Linked DNA regions of Homo sapiens: region 2 is linked to region 1. Evidence: promoter capture Hi-C in human tissues and cell types (Jung and others, 2019). All regions are on one chromosome and are shown on one strand. Each heading gives the region's core, a stretch centred on a gene start or on the middle of the fragment in contact. The rest is flanking DNA. Distances are from core to core; before and after follow the strand shown.

Region 1 (3,819 bases), core at 1,007-3,506:
AATTTAAAGAAAACCAGTTGTAAAGTGGAGACTTACTCTCCTTGGCCCACCCACCTTAAGCAGCAACTGGATTTGATAAAAATTTTTGTAAAATAAATAACTAGATTCCCAAGGCATTAAAAAATAGCCACTGAAAAAATCATATGATGAAATGTTCTTGGGTCTCACAACACATCCCACTAGTTCCAGTGCCATGATCAGGGCCAGGGGCATGGCAAGCCCTCCATGAAGGTTTGCTCACCTAAGTGAACCCGGCTCCAAGAATCAAAGAGGACTTGGGATAGTGGAAATGGGTCTGGGCCTCAGCCTCAGCACATCTTATGGTAGCCAATAATCTTCTGCTCAGATGAAGACATACGCTAGTATTTTGTTCTTTCAGGAAGTGTCTCTTGAGACTTTTTTCACTAATTAGTAAGGCAAGTAATAGATGGTCCCCAACTCCCTATCTCCCACTCCATTATCAACAAAGTGGGTTATTCTCTATGAGTATGATGTGCAACTTTGATTCTCTGCCTAATAAATGCCCTTTACTGCCAAATAAATGTTAAATAATCAGCCATCAATTCCACAGAGACCATCAAAGTGAAAAACATTAGATGTCAACGTTCCCAGAATCACCACATCTGGGAGAGAAGTCCTGTTAATATGCAGTTTGACAAGTGCAATCAGGACATTCTGCCACGTGTTCAGATCCAACCCAGAGCTGGGAGGCATGGGTTCTAGGTGACTGGGCCCCTGCAGAGCTGCCAGCACTCTGCTGTCTGCAATGAGAATAAAAAGGAATAGAAGAGAAAAGAGACCAGGTGCAGTGGCTCACACCTGTAATCCCAACACTTTGGGGTGCCAAGGCAGGTGGAATCTGTGAGCTCCAGGAGTTTGAGACCAACCTGAACAATGTAGTGAAAACCCATATCTACACAAAATACAAAAATCAGCTCAGTGTGGTGGCAGGTGCCTGTAGTCCCAGCTACTGGGGAGGCTGAGACGGGAGGATCGCTGGAGCCCTGGGAATGAGCCAAGATTGTGCCACTGCACTCCAGCCTGGGCAACAGAGTGAAACCCTTGTCTCAAAAAAGAAAAAAAAAAGAGAGAGAGAGAGAGAAAAGATCCCCGTTTGTCATCATCACTCTGGGCACTCCAAAGTGAGGTCTCCTGTGTCTGGATGTAATTTTTGGATATTTTCTAATCAGCACAAATTAAACAAAAGGAATAGAAAGAGGGAAGTAAAAATGCCAATACCTTCCCACACCAACAAAACTAAATGAAATACCCACGTGTCCTGGGTCCACGATCTCCAACCAATACCTGGCTTCAGTGCAAACAAGACTGACAATATGTTGCAGGTGGATTCAGGTAATTTAAGATTACTGTTTAAACCGAGGATCCATGGGAGGAAGAAAACAGAAACAAAACCCGAAACACCCACTGATACATTTCAGACTTAAACAACATAAGAACTTGGCACAGGTAATGCCAAGTTATGGTTTCAACACACTATGTACATCTTTAGCATACTGGAGGTGTTTTCTTTAAATACATGCCAGGGAGTTCACACTCAGGGAACTAGGCACGGATTTTCTGATTCTTTTCCACCTACACAGATAGGCCCTTGACCTAAGAGGATCCCGTCCAAGATTACAACATATATTACTATTGTCACTATTACTAATGTCATTCAGATCCATCTTGTATGTTAGCAAAATGGTCAGATAATAGAGATTGGTGTAGGAATTCAACCATCTCCCTGGCATCTGTATTTCAGAAGCCCCCAAAAGTTATAACTTCCTGAAATACCAAACCTGAGAGTCTCGCTGGTCCAGGTTGGGATTGAGGCTGAGGATAGCAAGGGCAACCAAAGAGCCCTAGAGTTCTCAGGGGGCCGCCGAGGTCCCCCGGAAGCCACAATGCTGGGCCTTGGGCCCGGGCCAGCAGAGGGGATTGCGGCCTCGGCCGCGCCCTGGCCCCCTGCCCCATCCCCGCGCAGCCTGAGCCGTCGGGGCCCGGCCAGGGGTGGACCGGGCGGTACTCACCGCAGGTTGCGGTCGACCATGTCCCACCAGGCGGCCACGCAGCTACGGGCTGGGGGCCCGGGCGGCTCGGGCGATGCGGCCGCCTGGCAGTCCTGCGCGTCCATCCCGCGCCGTGTCCCGATACGCCGCCACCGCCGCGGGAGCTGCAGTCCGGAGCAGCCGCCCGCGACCTTCCCGCCCCGGCGGCACCGCGCCCGCCCTCCTCCTCCGCGCGGTCAGGCAGGCTGGTACGGCGGGGGAGACGCGGCCCGAGGGTGCGCTCCGCCCGGGTCAGGCTGTTCGCGGCCACACACACACACACAGATGTCCTAAGCTTATAGCTAGCTATGCTACATTTTATTTTAAATTGATTTCCATTATACTTCTGTGTGTGTGTGGGTGTGAGGCGCGCGCAACGCAGTAAAATATGTTTTCACCATGGTACTACTAACACAAAAGTTTGACCGCCACAGCTTTTGATTTTCATGAAGAATATAAGCTTTCCTCTACTTAAACCTCACTTTTTTCTTTTTCTCTTTTTCTGAAGCCTCCTTGTCTCCAATTCCCCATCCACCCCCAAAATCCTCACAGCCCCCCACCCTGTCACCCTTACTATAGAAAGAATTTCTTTGGCTCCCTTTGATTTACTAATGATTTGTCTGTCCACGTGGGGTTATGAACACAATTACTCCATGTAGCAAAAAATTAAGACCTTTTCGGTATTTTGTTTACGTAGCAGCATGTAGCAGAACCTCATCATTGTACCAAGGAGTTCACACCTTGAAACTTTGACCTTGGTACAGGTTTACATCTTGGTGCAGGTTTACATTGTGCAACTGTCTCCTAGGAGCAGGAACTGTCTACCAGAGCTACTCTAGGGAAGCCACGGCCTGCATGTGTGGGGACAAAGGAGGAAGAAAGGGAATTAGGTTTTATTTGGATACATTCGGATGCCAGCATCAAGGCTTCATCTTGGAGGCAAGGTGCAAATCTTAAGAGGTGAAATGGGTTTTTTGTAGTGTCTGTGTTCAGAGGGCACAGCAGGGGGCTGTCAGCACCAGAAAGTGCGTGGAAACCCATCTGCTTGAGGATAGTAAGATGGTCTGGGGGAAAATACCCACACTTTTCAAGAAAGGGAAGTTTTCTTTGAGTACTAGCTCATTTCATGGAACTGTCAGGGCAAAGGGGGATTTTGTTCACTGCCTGTTAATACTCTTATACTTGCTCTGGGAATGTTTGTTTTCTTTGTTTCTTTCTCTTTCCTTCCTTCCTTTCTTTCTTTCTTTCTTTCTTTCTTTCTTTCTTTCTTTCTTTCTCTTTCTTTCTTTCTTTCTTTCTTTCTTTCTTTCTTTCTTTCTTTCTTTCTTTCTTTCTTTCTTTCTTTCTTTCTTGTCATGGTCTTACCCTGTCACTGAGGCTGGAGTGCAGTGGTGCAATCATAGCTCACTGTACTTGAACTCACTTGAACTCCTGGACTCAAGCAATCCTTCCACTCCAGCCTCCCAAGTAGCTGGGACTACAAGCATGCACCACTATGCCTGGTGCGCGCGCGCACGCACGCTTGTGTGTATAGAGATGAGATCTCACTATGTTGCCCAGGCTGCTATCAAACTCCTGGCCTCAAGCAATTCTCCCACTTCGGCCTCCCAAAGTGCTGGGATTACAGGTCTCTGTCACCACACCTGGCTGGAATGTTCAGTTTCTGATTCACACACATCAAGATAGAAGAGGAATTAGCTCAGAAAGGACCAATGGGATCCAAGCCTGACTGATGAGCCAGCAGCAGGTGGGTTTTCACAGAGCCACAACC
Region 2 (3,495 bases), core at 514-3,013, 290 kb after region 1:
GCCCGCCACCTCGCATTTTTTATTTTTTATTTTTTTATTTTTAGTAGAGACAAGGTTTCACCATGTTAGCCAGGATGGTCTCGATCTCCTGACCTCGTGATCTGCCCGCCTCGGCCTCCCAAAGTGCTGGGATTACAGGCGTGAGCCACCGCGCCCGGCCAATAGTCACATATATTCTTCTAAGTTTATTTGTTTGTTGTTTTTTGAGACAGGGTCTCACTCTGTTACCCAGGCAGAGTGCAGTGGTGTGAGCTCAGCTCACTGCAACCTCTGCTTCCTGAGCTCAATCGATCCTCCCACCTCAACCTCCCGAGTAGATGGGACTACAGGCACACACAACCACCAAGTCCCACTAATTTCTGTATTTTTTGTAGAGATGGGGTCTCACCATGTTGCTCAGGCTGGTCTCAAATTCCTGGACTCAAGTGATCCACGTGCCTTGGCCTCCCAAAGTGCTGGCATTACAGGGATGAACCACGGTGCCCAGACTTTTCTATGTTTTAAAGTTTGCTTTTGATACTTAAGTTCCTAGTCCATCAGAAGTTGTTATTTGTAGGGTGGAAGATAAAAGCCATTTCTTTTTTAAATATGAGAAACAAATTTTTTCAGAGCTCTGTCAAAGCCCCTTCTTTCCTCAAGTGGTCTGCCATGAGATCTTTGTCATAAGTAAGAGTTTTACACAAACACACACCCCCACATACACACTGACTCATTTCTGAGCTCTCAGTTCTGATCCATTCATCAATTTCTCTACACCAGCACCAATTTTACACTATCCTATTCAAAATAGCTTCATAAAAAGTTACTGTATATAATATGGCAAGCACCTCCTATCCTTCTAATTATTATTGGTCTTGGCTATTTTAACCCTTTCCATATAAATATTAAAATCAATCTGTTAGTTGAACTCTTTACTGAAGTTACATTTATAGATCAGTTTGAAATGAATCAGTACCTTCATGCTATTAAGTCTTCTAATACATTAACATGATCTAGCTCTCCATCTATGTTTGGTCTTTAATTCCCTTTGGTAATGTTTTTATAATTTGGGGGAGTAGGAAGAGGTTTATTACATTTAGTCCCAGGTGCACTGTAGTTTTTGTTGCTAACTATGACTGGTTTATTTGTTGTTGTTTTAGTTATACTTTCTAGTTGTTGTTTGGATAAAGAACTATAATTAGCTTTAATGCATTGGTCTCATATTGAAGCATTTACTAAACTTTATTATTTCCTGTAAAATTTATGTAGATACTTTTGGGTTTTTTAAATGTAGAAACAGAAATACAATTTTCAAATAATGACAGTTTCCAACTTTTCAATCTTTATGTATGTCTTTTCTTTTTCTTAACTTATTAGACATTCAAGGCAATGTTGAATAGAAGAGGTGATAATGGGCATAACTTTTGATTTCAGTAGGCATAACTTCCTGATTTTAAAGGGAATGTCTCCAATATTTGCCTATTGGGGTTACTTTTGTTACAGTTTTGTTGGGCTTGGTTTGGTAGATACATTTTATCATATCAGATGAAGGAAATTCTATGTGTAGTTTACTAAGGGTTTCTAAAAATCACAAACAAATAATGAATTTTATCAAATAATCTCTTCTGCATCTATTGAGGTGATCATATAGCTTTTCACATCCAACATATCAGTGTAGCAAATAATATATATTTGCACTTTTTATATAAACCTAATAGTCTCAGGGTATAGTATAATGTTGGATTCAGTTTGCTAAGATTTTGTTTAGGAATTGTGCATGTATATTCATAAATGAGTTGCCTATGACTTTCCTTTCTTATTTTGTCCTTGGGTGGTTTTATTATATAAGTTATGCAAGCTTTATAAAATGAATTAGCAGCTGGGCATGGTGGCTTACACTTGTAATCCCAGCACTTTGGGAGGCCGAGGCGGGTGGATCATTTGAGGTCAAGAGTTTGAGACCAACCTGGCCAAGATGGTGAAACCCCGTCTCTACTAAAAAAAAAAAAAAACAACAACACAAAAATTATCTAGGCATGGTGGTGCGTGCCTGTAGTCCCAACTACTTGAGAGGCTGAGGCAGGAGAATCACTTGAACCCACAAGGCAGAGGTTGCAGTGAGCTGAGATCACACCACTGCACGCCAGCCTGGGTGACAGAGTGAGACTCCGTCTTATGGAAAAAAAAAAAAAGAGAAAAGTTTGTAATAAAAGATTGGAGTGAACGGTTCTTTGAAATTTTGATAGAACTCACCTGTAAAACTTTGTGAACCTGGTGTTTTCTTTGTGAGATGATTTTTAACTGTCATTTAAATTTCTTTTGTTGAGATGGAGACTCACTCTGTCACCCAGGCTAGAGTGCAGTGGCGCGATCTCGGCTCACTGCAACCTCTGCCTCCCGGGTTTAAGCAATTCTGCCTCAGCCTCCCAAGTATCTGGAACTACAGGCACGTGCCACCATGCCCGGCTAATTTTTTGTATTTTTAGTAGAGATGGGGTTTCACCATGTTGGCCAGGCTGGTCTCAAACTCCTGACCTCAAGTGATCCGCCCGCCTCGGCCTCCCAAAGTGCTGGGATTACAGTCATGAGCCACCGCGACTGGCCATTTCAATTTCTTTAATAGTTATTATTGCTATTGTGATATTAGTACCAATAAAGCTTGATAGTTCTTGAAATACTTCTAGTTCATTCTATCTTTCTAGGAATTTTCTTTTCACTGCCTTAAAATTCAGACAAAAATCAGTAAATATGCAGATTTGAACAGCATCATTAGCCAGTAGCCAGCCTTACCTATCTGACATCTAGTAATTATAGAACCACACATTCTTTTTAAGTTCATATGGAACATTTACCAAATAGCCTAGGTACTGGCTTATAAATCAGATCTCAATAAACTTCAAAGAATTACAGTAAGAAAGAATATGTTATCTCATCATAAAGGAATTAAACCAGAAATCAGTAACAAGAAGATATTAAGAAAATCTCTAAATGTTTGGAAATTAAGCAATAAATCTAAATAACCTATGGAATAAAGAAGAAAGTACAATGAAAACTAGAAAATATTGTGAACTAAATGATCTGATGAATGTTCTGATCTATTTGTCAATTTGTCTTTGACAGCACCAATACTACACTATATTCATTAAAATAGCTTTATGAAAAGCCATTATATGTTAATAGGACAAGCCCTCTTATCTTCTAATTACTATCAGTCTTGGCTATTTTGACCCTTTTCATATAAATATTGAATCAATATGTTAGGTCGTAGTATCTTATTTATATTGAAATATTTAAAATATGACATATAAAAAACTTGCTTAGAGGAAACTTAAACTTTGAAATGCATAAAGTAGTAAAGATGCTTGAAAAAAATCATAAGCTAATATCTATGTCAAGAAACAGTAAAAAGAATATCAAATTAGATTCAAAGACAAGAAAAGATAGGAAATAATGGTCAAAAATAAATGAACTAGAAATCAAGATCAGTGAGATTAACTTAATAATATAAGACTGATC

What was found. Contacts are between HindIII fragments. The study calls those that stand out against the background at their distance.
Region 2: a fragment that was not itself captured here is called in contact with the fragment with the promoter of ABHD12B in region 1 in 2 of the 25 tissues and cell types used here (lymphoblastoid cells and spleen).

The regions. Positions count from the first base shown.
Region 1 is chr14:50,870,490-50,874,308 of GRCh38, reverse strand. ABHD12B (abhydrolase domain containing 12B) reads right to left here and starts at 2,256. Exons shown (of 13, transcript NM_001206673.2): 1 at 2,031-2,256. The coding sequence starts at 2,134. The HindIII fragment of the contact is 9,841 bases long and covers 1-3,171 here.
Region 2 is chr14:50,581,087-50,584,581 of GRCh38, reverse strand. All of the region lies in intron 1 of ATL1 (atlastin GTPase 1), which reads right to left. Among named protein-coding and RNA genes, the nearest start is that of ATL1, 23 kb to the right of the region's middle. The HindIII fragment of the contact is 6,629 bases long and covers 1-3,495 here.